Linked DNA regions of Homo sapiens: all the other regions are linked to region 1. The links are contacts of gene promoters, found by promoter capture Hi-C in human tissues and cell types (Jung and others, 2019). All regions are on one chromosome and are shown on one strand. Each heading gives the region's core, a stretch centred on a gene start or on the middle of the fragment in contact. The rest is flanking DNA. Distances are from core to core; before and after follow the strand shown.

Region 1 (3,020 bases), core at 294-2,793:
AAAGGAGAAATAAGTGGGAAGGAAAAATAAATTCACCAGGCTAAGCATCATAAAATCACACACGCTCTTAAAATTTGGCCAGTAATTAATAGTAGTAGTATTATTATTAGTCTTTGTTTTGGGAGATTGCCTTCAGAGAGCTGGAAAATTCATTTCGAATTAATAAGGGTCTTTTTCTTTCAGAAGCATCTCCTAAAAATAAGAACGGGCTAATTAAAAATCTGACAGCCACCCCGATACTTACAGAATTTTTGCATATGCAGGATAGTCATCACAAATTGTATTCTCTGCACGTCATGTCAAAAGTATTCTCATACACTACTAGAGGGAGCTTAAGAATTTAAGGTGTGCAAGAATATATTTCTATCTTTGGCCCACCAGGGCCCTCTTGTAGGAGGCCTGTGTTGGGCGGGAGAGGCCTAGTCGCAGACCCTGTCTTTTCAAGGAGAAAGCCCGCCACTGCTTCCTCTGAGTCTGGAGATAAAACCAGTCCGGCATTGCTACTCCCTAGCTCTCTCCCCCTCCCTTAATTCCTCCTCTACATTTCAGGCGCATTTCTCAGAGTGCCACCTGTTCCTGCTGCTTACCCTTTTCATGCCTTCGCATTGACAAAAGTGAGCTCACCCTGCGGTAACCTTGTCAGGCAGGGCAGGCCAGTGGCCAGAGCAGGGCGTTAGGACCCTTTTGGAGGTAGTCCCAACTGGGATGCTGCAAAGCGCTTCTCTTACTACTGTCCTCCCTAGATGCAGAATTCGTCCCTCCACCCCTCTGTCCAATGGAACCACAGGGCTGGGAAGATTTTACAGCGTCAGTACTTCTCTGTCCGTCCACAGCCCGGTCCCTGAGGCTCTGTCCTCGCCAGGTGAGCCGAGCAGTACCTGGGCGTGGGACCGCTGGCACAAAGGGCACCCAGCCCCGGCAGAGGCTCTAACCTATGGCACACGCGGGCATATAGTGCCACCTGGTAGAGAGTCAACAGTGGTGCTTTAAAATGCAATACAAACCCCTCCTACATTTGTTGTCAAATCACTTCACGATTCCCAGGCAGGCACTGGATTCTGCGCCTGGGAGTAGGGCTGGGGGGGAACGCTGCCTGCATGTGCAAAAATAACCCCCGAAGACGCGAGCCAAGTCCTGGGTTGGAGCCTCTGCAGCCTGTGGATGCCCGCTGGGCGGCTGGCCGTCCCCCGGGAGCCCCGCGGGGCTGGTCCGCTCCGCCTGCGCACGCCGGGCGGCGGGAGCGAGCCGGCGCCGACTTTGGGAGTTCCTGGCTGCCTTGTATGGAGGGCTGCTCCCGGCCCGTCTCCGCCCGACTGCTCTGACGCCCAGCCCTCCCGCTGCCCACCCCCAGCCGCCTCCCTCTGACTTGCCTAAGAAGCCAGACGGAGCCTCTCGCTTCCACAAGTCTCTCTGCCTGCCATTCCCCGATTCCTGCAGCCACCCCCACCCTCCAGCGCCGTCACCCCTCCTCCGCCCCCGCCCCCGCCTCCGCCTTCGCCTCGGCAATCGGGGGAATAAATCAGGGAGGAAACCGAGAGGGAGAGCGAGAGCGCGCGAGCGCCGGCGGGCTCGCCGAGGTCTGTTTCCAAAGTCGCCCTTGATGGCGGCGGAGGCAAGGCGGCCGCGGCGCGGAGCAGCCGACGCACGCTAGTGGGTCCGCCCGCCACCGCCCCTTCCTCGGCGTCCGCTCCCGCCCTTGCCGTCCCCCGCGCGGCTCCGCGCCTCGGGCCCCGGGCGCAGCCAGCCCTCCAGACGCCCGCGGTCCCGGCGGCGTGTGCTGCTCTTCCTCCGCCCGCGGTTTCCAGCGCCGCTCCTTCCCCCGCTTGGGCAGGGAGGGGGCATTGATCTTCGATCGCGAAGATGGCTGCTGGCTGCCTGCTGGCCTTGACTCTGACACTTTTCCAATCTTTGCTCATCGGCCCCTCGTCGGAGGAGCCGTTCCCTTCGGCCGTCACGTAAGTCGGCGGGCCGGGCAGGGAGCGCCGGCCGAGGGGCGCCGCGGGAGTTGGGGGTGGGGGTCGGTTCCCGAGTCGCGGGGCTTTTCCGCCCGTGGGGGTGGGGAGCGAGCGGCCGGGGAGCCAGGCTCGGATGCGGAGACGCCGGGCAGGCGGTGCGCGCCGCTCGCCGCTGGAATGCGTCCCGAACCGGCGTCTCGGGCGCCTCCACGGGGCCGGGCACTGGGGGCCGACTGTCCCGGGAAGCGCCCGCCGACGACTCGCGGCGTCTCAGCCCGTCTCTAACGGGATTCTCTAGACTTCAGAGTGCAGCCGTACTGGGGAAAAAAGTTTCCAGCCAGCTCACCCGCTCTGATTCAACCCAGTTCAATAAAAAGTTATGTTTTGGTTGGGTAATTTACAAACAGGTAATTTCAGGCTTGCCGAGGTAGCGTGGACTTCCCCCGCACTTGGCCTCGGAGATGCTCTTTAATTGCTGTAGTGCCCAAACTCGTTTTATCCCACGTTACTGGATGCACTTGACAGCCTTCCGATTAGACGCGTGCTGGCTCCCCGCGGCCGAGCGTGCTGTCCACGCAGGGGGCTCGCAGGTACTGGGACCACGCGATCCAACCTCCCCAACCCATTATTTGAAACATCTAAGTGTCGGCAGACACGCGGTCCCTGTTCTTCAAATGAATAGAGCCTATTCTTTGAAGGAGGGACTATTTCCAGTCTCCTACAAATTTTCTTTTATTTTTACCATTTCTAAAATAACTTTTAAAAACCTCGCTGCTGTTCTGGAAATAGAGGGCTTATAGGTAGCTATAGTCACACCACAGGAAGGGAATGAAAAATAATAATTCTCTCCTTTCTTAGCAAAATAGAATCAAACTCAATGGCACATATAAATATATACATATTTTTTAATGCACCGAATAGCCTATCCGGCATTCTGGGAAAGCATTTATTTTGGTTCTTGGAGCTTCTTTAAAGCTTCTAAAGGTAGGTAATCTTAAGTGGATGAGTCACTTTAATGCATTTTACATAACAAAAACAAAGCCCAAGGTAGCTTTCCCGGTATTT
Region 2 (3,020 bases), core at 265-2,764, 420 kb after region 1:
GGAATCACAATTTATAGCAGCTATAGTCTTACCAAATGTGTTTCTTAAATAATTAATAAGACTTGAAAGTCACAATTAGTTCTTGATCCATGTGCTACAAAATGCAAGTTGTGTTAGCAGGCATGAAAACACATTAATCTCCTTGTAAATCTCCATCAGAGCTCTTGGGCGACTACCTACATTGTCAGTGAGCAATAATTTTTTTTTAACATATGTTTCAATAGTGGGCTCAAAATATTCAGTAAACCATGCTGTAAACAGATGTGCTGTCATCCAGGCTTTGTTGGTTCATTTGCAGAGCATAAGCAGAGTAGATTTAGCATAATTCTTAAGGACCCTGAGATTTTTGGAATGGTAAAAGAGCACTGGCTTCCACTTAAAGTCACCAAGTGCATTAGCTACTAAGAAGAAAGTCAGCCTGTCCTTTGAAGCTTTGAAGCAGGCAATAACTTCTCCTTTTTAGCTATGAAAGTCCTAGATAAAATTGTCTTCAAATACAAGGCTGTTTTCTCTACATTGAAAATCTGTTGTTTATTATAGTGGCCTTCACCAGTGATCTTAGCTACATCTTCTGGATAACTTGCTGCAGCTTCTACATCAGCACTTGCTGCTTCACCTTGCACTTTTATGTTATAGAGATGCCTTTTTTCCTTACACCTCATGAGCCAACCTCTGCCAGCTTCAGGGACCACTGAATATAACAGTATGATATCACTATATTCACTGTATCAGATATAATGATCACTATAACAGATGTAATAATAATGAAAAAGATTAAACTATTCTAAGAATTACTAAACTGTGACAGAGACATGAAGTTAGCGTGTGCTGTTGGAAAAATGGCAACAGTGGACTTACTTGATACAGGGTTGCCACAAACCTCCAATCTGTAAAAAATGCAACAAAGAACCATGATAAAATGAGATATACCTGTACACACATATGATTATATGCATATTATTTTACAATAGAAGACCTTATACATTATTATAGGCTAAAGATGAATGAAAGGATACTCAGACAAGGAAAGCTTATAGATACAAAACTGAGAAAGGCTAATTGATAGAGATCTTGAAAAGAGGAGGGATTGAGAGAGAGATGGAACACGTTTCTGAATTTGACAAGTAGGTATTAATTTCTGGAAACATTGCTGTCCCACATTTCATATGCACTGTGAAGTTAAATGACATCCCACATTTTCTAATGTGAGAAGGCCATGTTAAATGAATAAAACGTTCATCTTGGAATTTGAGATATTTAGGTACAGGCATGCAATCACATTACATCATGGAAAATTGAGTACCCATCCCCTTAAGCATTTATCCTTTGCATTACAAAGAACCCAATTATACATTTTCATTATTTTTAAATGTACCATTATTATTTACTATATCCCTCTTGTGCTGTCAAGAACTAGGTCTTTTTCATTCTATTTTTTTGTACCCATTAATCATCTCCACCTCCCTACAAACCCCCAGCATACCCTTCTCAGCCTCTGATAACCACTATTCTCTTCTCTATCTCCTGAAGTTCAATTACTTTGATCTTTAGATCCCACAAATAAATGAAAACAAGTATTTGCATGTTCTGTGTCCACTAATAATGAGTATAAATGATAGCAGACAACCACCTTTAATTCAGTTATACTTTTGAGTATACCTGTATTTTATTAAAACAACAGCATTTGTGTAGTAATTGTTTATGCCCAGGACATATGTGTATGTGTAGAGTGCTTATATACATAAAATAGTGTACATATGTACATTATATATTTTTCACCATCTTCAAATATGGCTTCAAATGTGTGTGGATGAATTGAGGAACATGTTCTAACTTTATTGCCTGCTGTACACACACCCACCCTGTGTGAGCGATCTGCAGCCCACAGATATTAATAACAAAGATAATTGTTTATTGTTATCTAAAGTTGTGCATGCAGTACTAATTCCAGAGCCACAAAATTAATGTTACATAATACGTTTATCAACTCAGCATTTCACTTTCCACAGAAATACTATCTTTCAAATGGCCAATGTGTAAAAATGAAATTCGATAGATTTAGTAAAATATAAATGCTCAGTACTCTTAAAAATTCTATGTTTGAATGCAACTTTTTAAAAAAACTTTTTTTAAATAAGTTCACATGTAACTTTAAAATATCAAAATGACAAACATAAAGGAAGAAAGAAAATACAAAAGAAAAATAAGACAGAAAATAACAAAATGACATTAATAAATTTTGTCTTATCAATAATAATTTTAAATGTAAATGAATTAAACTCCCCAGTCAAAAGACACAGAGTGGCTGAATGGATAAAAAACAAAACCACACTATATGCTGCCTATCAGAAGTTCACTTTAGATTTAAGGACACACATAGGCTAAAAGTGAAGGGATGAAAAAAGTTATTCCATGCAAATGATAACCAAAAGAAAGTATGGATAGCTACATTTATATCAGACAAAACAGGCTTTAAGTAAAAAAAAAAAAAAAACTGACACGAGACAAAGAAGGATGTTATATAATAAAAGCATCAATCCAGCAATAATATATAACAAAGATGTATGCACCCAACATCAGAACATCTAAATATATAAAGCAAACATGGACAGCACTGAAGGGGCAAATAGGCAGCAATACAATAATACTAGAAAGCTTGAATACCTCACTTTCAGTGATGGATAGAACAGCCAGACAGATGATCAATCTGGAAACAGAGGACTTGAACAACACTATAACCAAATAGACTTAAACAGATAGAGAACATTTGACCCAATAGAAATAATACACATTTTTCTCAAGTGCATATGGAACATTCTTCAGGATAGATCATACGTTAGGTCACAACAAATTCTTAACAAATTCAGATTGAAATCATACCCAGTCTCCTTACTGACCACAGTGGAGTGAAACTAGAAATTAGTAGCAGAAATAAATAGTCTCCTTTTGCAGATGACATGATCTAAATATAGAAGACACTAAAGGACTTCAAAAAGCTCATTAGAACAAATAAACAAAAT
Region 3 (3,020 bases), core at 170-2,669, 310 kb after region 1:
TGGCCTAAATTAGACAGAAGTTGATTCCTCTCTAGGAACATTCTGGATACACTGGCTAATACAGCAACTCCCTGTCTTTCCAGCCCTCAAGGTTCTTCTCCCCATTCTCTGCTTTCCTCAGTGTAGCTCTTCCATGTTGTGCTCCAAGATCGGTGTTCCAATATCCATGATTCTTTTTGCGTTCTAGATTAGAGGAGAGAGGCAAGTGACAATGGGAGACATGCCCTTTGCCTTTAGGGGCATGTCTCAGAGTTTGCATACATCACTTCTATGTGTGCCCATTGTCCACAACTTAGTGACCAGCCTTGCCTTGTTGCAAGAGGATATGGAGTACTTTTCCTCCCAACCCTTGACCCATGTGTACATACCCAACTAACATGTAGAGTTACATTACTAAAGAGAGAAGGGATAGTAATTGAGAGATCATTAATTAGCAGTTTCTGCACATATCTTCAATTTGTTCTTCTTGACATATTAAAGTTAGTGCAAACACTCTACTCATTCATCTGAGTGACTATTATCTTTTAAATATAATCAAACCCTTTGGGGGAGATAATTTTTCTATAGTAAAATGAATATAAAATTGGGTGCTGTACTGAGTTTTTTCTAATATCTCCTAATGCATTTTGATAACTAATGATCAAATTGTTTTCTGCAATAGAAATATTTACTATATTACAGTGAAAGTCAAGAACTGTAAATACATGTTGTACTTTGATATTCTAGTTAACAAGTTTCAGTATTTACATTTTTTTTAAAAAAAGATTGTTACTTATCTCATGAAGTTAGACTCCTATGGATGATGAAATTTACTCACCCTCACCAAAAGTTTTGCAGTACAGGGTGGATTTAATTGGATCTTTTGTTTACAACTTTATATATGCGTTGGCTGGTATTTTATATATCAGGTGTTCACAAATCATATCATCACATTGTTTTTGTTTGAATTTGGCTACTATCACTGTTCTTTGCTCTCACTTTTATACATGCTAGTTTAGCTATGTATTTTTATTGTTCAAATTCTACAATGTCATATTCTTCATTAAAAATTTGTCATTTGAGATTATAAAATGTAACTTTACAATCTCATACGTCTACATCAACTAATAAAACAGTGGGGCTAATTGGCATACTAACTGCTGGGATAACATTATTAATAAATTTAGTCCTCAGTATGTTTCAATGGGGATTAATATCCGAGGGCTGTTGAAAGAAATTATGGATAAATTAAATTTACCCGAGTTTATTTGTATAAAGAATGATTCATGAATCAGGCAGTACTCAAAATTAGGACAGAGCCCCACCCAGCAACATGGCCAGGCAGTATTTATAGACAGACAAAGGAAGTGATGTGTAGAAACAGCTTGATTGGTTATAGCTGGACATTTACCTTACTTGGGCATGGTGATAGCTGGGCATTTACCTTACTTGGGCATATGTAGCATTTGCCTTCTGTGGACATAATCTGATCAGTGGGCAGCCTGTGATTGGCTGAAACTCAGCTGCTATGATTAGCTGAGACTCAGTTATTAGTTACAAGAATATACTTTTAAAGTAGGTTGCAGTTTGTTAACATACTAAGTTAGGCTGCAGTTTACTGTAAAGAAATTCAAAATACAAATGTAACCTTAGGACAAATTTAGTTTATAAGAGCTGGCCGGCGCGGTGGCTCATGCCTGTAATCCCAGCACTTTGGGAGGCTGAGGCAGGCAGATCACGAGGTCAAGAGATCGAGACCATCCTGGCTAACACAGTGAAACCCTGTCTCTACTAAAAAATATTTTTTTAAAATTTAGCCAGGCATGATGGCGGGCGCCTGTAGTCTCAGCTACTTGGGAGGCTGAGGCAGGAGAGTAGCGTGAACCCGGGAGGTGGAGCTTGCAGTGAGCCGAGATTGTGCCACTGCACTCCAGCCTGGGCAACAGAGCGAGACTCTGTCTCAAAAAAAAAAAAAAAAAAAAAAAGACAAAAACAACAACAAAAAAAACAAGCACTAAATAAAGTTTCTATTTTAAATATTATACCTCCTGGGTATAACTAAAAGATTATAAATCCTGAGGCTCTGGTTATTTTAACTTTTTCACCAGTTCTGCTGGAGATGATTTGTTTTCCAACTCCTAAGACTAGTAGATTAGTGATCATTTCCAGGATTTCCTAGTACTCATATCAATCATTTCCTTTCACTGCTCTAATACAATCATCTAAGTTTAGACATTGGTCTCAAATATGTTCTTAAGAGCTATTGAAATTATCTCATTTTATGATTATAAATTTTAAATGCATTTAATTATGATACATTATTATATAAATTTATAAACATTATATTCATATATCTTTTTCCATTGTCAAGATCTTTGTCACTTATTACTGACTCTTTTTTTGATGTTTAATACCGTGCAGAAACTTTACCAGTAACTTCCCTAAGCGGAACATATAATGTTTGGCAGTGAAATGAAAGTTTCTCCTTCTTGAAGGCACAGCCAATCTTTGTGAATTATTATCTTAGGGTCCCTCAAGAGTATAAGTTCCCAGAGAGCAGCTCTTATGCACTTATAGCAGCTGATGTAACTCTTACAATATCGAGTACACATTGTAATCACTCAAACTTTCTTTCCCAATAAATCTAAGTTCATATTAAAGCTTCATTTCACACAACTGTAAAAGGAATGTTCTGAAGTATAGTTTAAGAACACGTCATAGTTATATTCTAGAATTACTTCCCCATACTTTAATTTTTAGAGAGATCCTTTCCCTACTATCCCAACCTTAGTCCAGACTTGTGTAGGTCTCTATAATCTAGAGGATTGGCAATGAAATACATACCTTGAAGAAAACGCTTGCCCTATTGTTGACCAGTGGCAGGACCAAATGTTTTATATCATTAGCACTTCTGTAGTTACAAATATGACAGCACCAAGGACAAACACTTGGGGAAGAAAGACTACTTCCCAGTCTTGAGACTAGATAGGCCTTTCTTCATTTAAGACTAATAAAGTAAAATCCAGTCAATGGAGAAATCC
Region 4 (3,020 bases), core at 139-2,638, 290 kb after region 1:
GTGCAAAGGGGTTGATTTAGGTTAGTTTGTGGATGTTTCTATTGCAAACATCTATCCTTGGAACATAGTCATTACTTTTCAGGAATAAATGAATACACCTTAACTTGACCTTTCAAGATAGAAAAAAAATGATGCAAAGGTTTTTCTTTTTTACAGTTTTACATGCTTCTACAAAAATATGTACTAGAGATTTCAATTTTTTTTTTTTTTTTTAAGGGAAAGCTTTGCTTTGTTTTCAGAATAAGAGAGATGGCTCTTTAAGTTCTGTTGGGTGCTCACATGAGAAGCAAAATAATGGCTTACTGGGGGGAAAAAAAAAGTAGATGAACCCAGCTACTAGGGTGTTTTTTTTTGTTGTTGTTTTTGTTTTTTTTTTTTAATTTGATCTAAAGCAAAGCAGTTAGTGGAAACACCAAACCTTAAAGGTGGAAGGATTCTAGAGACCGTATTTGTCAACTGAATGTTTATGTCACAGGGGAGGAACCAAAGCCTCGGGAAGCCACATTACTAACTAGTCAATGCTTAAAGCCGTTTAAGCATTTAGCCATGTGCTCAGTAAGCATTTTAAAACACTCACTGCATGCCTATAGTAGATGCTGTTGGTTCCCTGCCCACATCTCCTCAGTGCATGCACACACACATGCACACACACACACGCACATGTACACACACAGAGACACGCACATACTCTTGCTCTGTAGCCCAGGCTGGAGTGCAGTGGCGCGATCTCGGCTGACTGCAAGCTCCGCCTCCCGGGTTCACGCCATTCTCCTGCCTCAGCTTCCTGAGTAGCTGGGACTACAGGCGCCTACCACCACACCCAGCTAATGTTTTTTTTTTTGTTGTTTGTTTGTTTTTTTTTTGTATTTTTAGTAGAGACAGGGTTTTACCGTATTAGCCAGGGTGGTCTCGATCTCCTGACCTTGTGATCCGCCTGCCTTGGCCTCCCAAAGTGCTGGGATTACAGGTGTGAGCACCCGGCCAAGCACATACTCTTATAGCTTCCTCCTCTAAGCATCTGCACATCTTGGCCTTGAGGGCTTTCTCAGGTGGCCAGAATGAGCAGGAGTGAACACTCCGAGTGACAGTTGGTATGGGTGGATACTACCTGAGCCTCCTCATTCTTTGGATGTGACCGTTTTGAGTGAAATTCTATATAGCCTCCCCAGGGTTCCTAGGGAAACAGCCCCAGTTGTCTACCTGCTCTTGACCACAGCTTGTGTGCCTTGGTGTCTCACTTCTCTACTCTCCTATTGGTGTCTCCTGGGATCACCTCCCAAATAAATGATGCTCAAATCCTAGTCTCAGTGTCTATTTCTAGGTAACCAAACCTAGGACAGTGTTAAAAACCAGTCAGTGAACATCTTGTCTGTGGAATATTAAGATAATTCATCAGATGATTCAACAACCTTATGAGGGAGGCTGGCTTGTTTAGTAGTTAATGACATCTAAGCTGTGATGGGCCAGGCATTGAGCTCAAACATGGCTAAGGTGTAGTCTCTCACAGGGCTCAGGCAGGTGATCACACTATGCTGTGCTGAGTACACAGACTGAGGCAGGGAATGCAGCCGATCCTTGACCCAGATACTTGCCCATTTCATCAATACAACAAACCAGTGATGTGTAGTGACTCTTCTCTCTGATTTATAGAGTGGGGAAATACAAGAAGATTCTATGAGAGGCATTAAGAAGGGTGTCCAGCCGGGTGTAGTGGCTCACGCCTGTAATCCCAACATTTTGGGAGGCTGAGGTGAGTGGATCCCCTGAGGTCAGGAGTTTGAGACCAGCCTGGCCAACATGGTGAAACCCTGCCTCTTTTAAAAATAAAAAATTCGCTGGGCATGGTAGCAGGCACCTGCAATCCCAGCTACTCGGGAGGCTGAGGCAGGAGAATCACTTGAACCTGGGAGGCGGAGGTTGCACTGAGCCGAGATTGTGCCACTGCACTCCAGCTGGTCGACAATAGCAAAACTCCATCTCCAAAAAAACAAAAAACAAGGTTGTCCAATTTTGACATGAAGCAGGGAAGCTGGGGAGTTTTCTCTGGCAAAGAAAGCTTCCTGGATGCACCTTTATTTTACTTAATAATGAAAAGTCTTTATTCCAGACTCCTAGTAGAAAATGTGGCAAATTTCTCCCAAACACACCTCCTTTGCTCTCCCACTGTTTCCTACCTATAACTGGAGCCAGTCCATATACATGTCACTTTTAGCTCTCTCCTTCAGCTTTTCTTTTGCTCTTTCAATTTAGGAAATTCTCAATATTCCTTTTTCTAATAGGGAGGAACATCCCTTGACTTTTTTTTTTTTTTCTAACTATGCCTCATCATTTAGACTTCTTAGTTTTGTCTTATATGTAAAATCATCTGTTTTTGAAACTTACAAATCTCCTTTCTACTTTAACAAGCCTTGCTTTTAAGACTATTGCCTTATAGGAACATAATGCACTATCCGAGCTGAACAGTGATATATTTGTTTTAGCTGTTACCACTTTCACAGAATAGTGATGCCAGCATAAAGTTAATTATTCTATTTGATTATTGTTGTTAATCTCTTACTGTGCCTAATATATAAATTAAACCTTATAAGTTTGTATACATATTAATATTATCTGTATCTGCAGTGTCAGGCCTTTACTGGGGCGTCTTGGATGTTTCTCCTGGGGATGAGCAAGGAGTACTGTATATATGTGAATGTTTATTTCATAATAGACACATAATAAATGTCCCTGTACTACCTTTATTTCCTATCCTACATATCCCTATAAGCCCGATGAAAGATGAATGAAATTGATGTAGTGATTACCAACCTAATGTTCTTTGAGGCTCCAATTTTGAACAGATTATTTTAAACTAAGTTATTCACTGACCATAGTGTTAATCCTCATATTTTGTTTTAGTAGGATAATAATCTGGAGTTGATAATGATTAATCTGGAGAGGAAGGGCTAATATTACCATTGGACAAATTAACAGCTCTCTTGCTAAGACATCATATATTATGATCAAGTGCTGTTGACCTG

The links. The method cuts DNA at HindIII sites, captures the fragments that hold promoters and counts their contacts. A contact is called where the count stands out against the background at its distance.
Region 2: a contact is called between a fragment that was not itself captured here and the fragment with the promoter of CACNA2D1 in region 1, in 1 of the 25 tissues and cell types used here (hippocampus).
Region 3: a contact is called between a fragment that was not itself captured here and the fragment with the promoter of CACNA2D1 in region 1, in 2 of the 25 tissues and cell types used here (dorsolateral prefrontal cortex and hippocampus).
Region 4: a contact is called between a fragment that was not itself captured here and the fragment with the promoter of CACNA2D1 in region 1, in 2 of the 25 tissues and cell types used here (heart left ventricle and hippocampus).

The regions. Positions count from the first base shown.
Region 1 is chr7:82,442,300-82,445,319 of GRCh38, reverse strand. CACNA2D1 (calcium voltage-gated channel auxiliary subunit alpha2delta 1) reads left to right here and starts at 1,543. Exons shown (of 39, transcript NM_000722.4): 1 at 1,543-1,955. The coding sequence starts at 1,861. RefSeq lists an enhancer at 2,538-3,020. The HindIII fragment of the contact is 9,545 bases long and covers 1-3,020 here.
Region 2 is chr7:82,025,522-82,028,541 of GRCh38, reverse strand. The region is part of intron 12 of CACNA2D1 (calcium voltage-gated channel auxiliary subunit alpha2delta 1); the gene reads left to right. It overlaps CACNA2D1-AS1 (CACNA2D1 antisense RNA 1), which reads right to left. Exons shown (of 4, transcript NR_110077.1): 4 at 1-887. Among named protein-coding and RNA genes, the nearest start is that of CACNA2D1-AS1, 18 kb to the right of the region's middle. The HindIII fragment of the contact is 4,274 bases long and covers 1-3,020 here.
Region 3 is chr7:82,129,736-82,132,755 of GRCh38, reverse strand. All of the region lies in intron 5 of CACNA2D1 (calcium voltage-gated channel auxiliary subunit alpha2delta 1), which reads left to right. Among named protein-coding and RNA genes, the nearest start is that of CACNA2D1-AS1, 120 kb to the right of the region's middle. The HindIII fragment of the contact is 9,170 bases long and covers 1-3,020 here.
Region 4 is chr7:82,147,616-82,150,635 of GRCh38, reverse strand. The region is part of intron 4 of CACNA2D1 (calcium voltage-gated channel auxiliary subunit alpha2delta 1); the gene reads left to right. Among named protein-coding and RNA genes, the nearest start is that of CACNA2D1-AS1, 140 kb to the right of the region's middle. The HindIII fragment of the contact is 3,987 bases long and covers 1-3,020 here.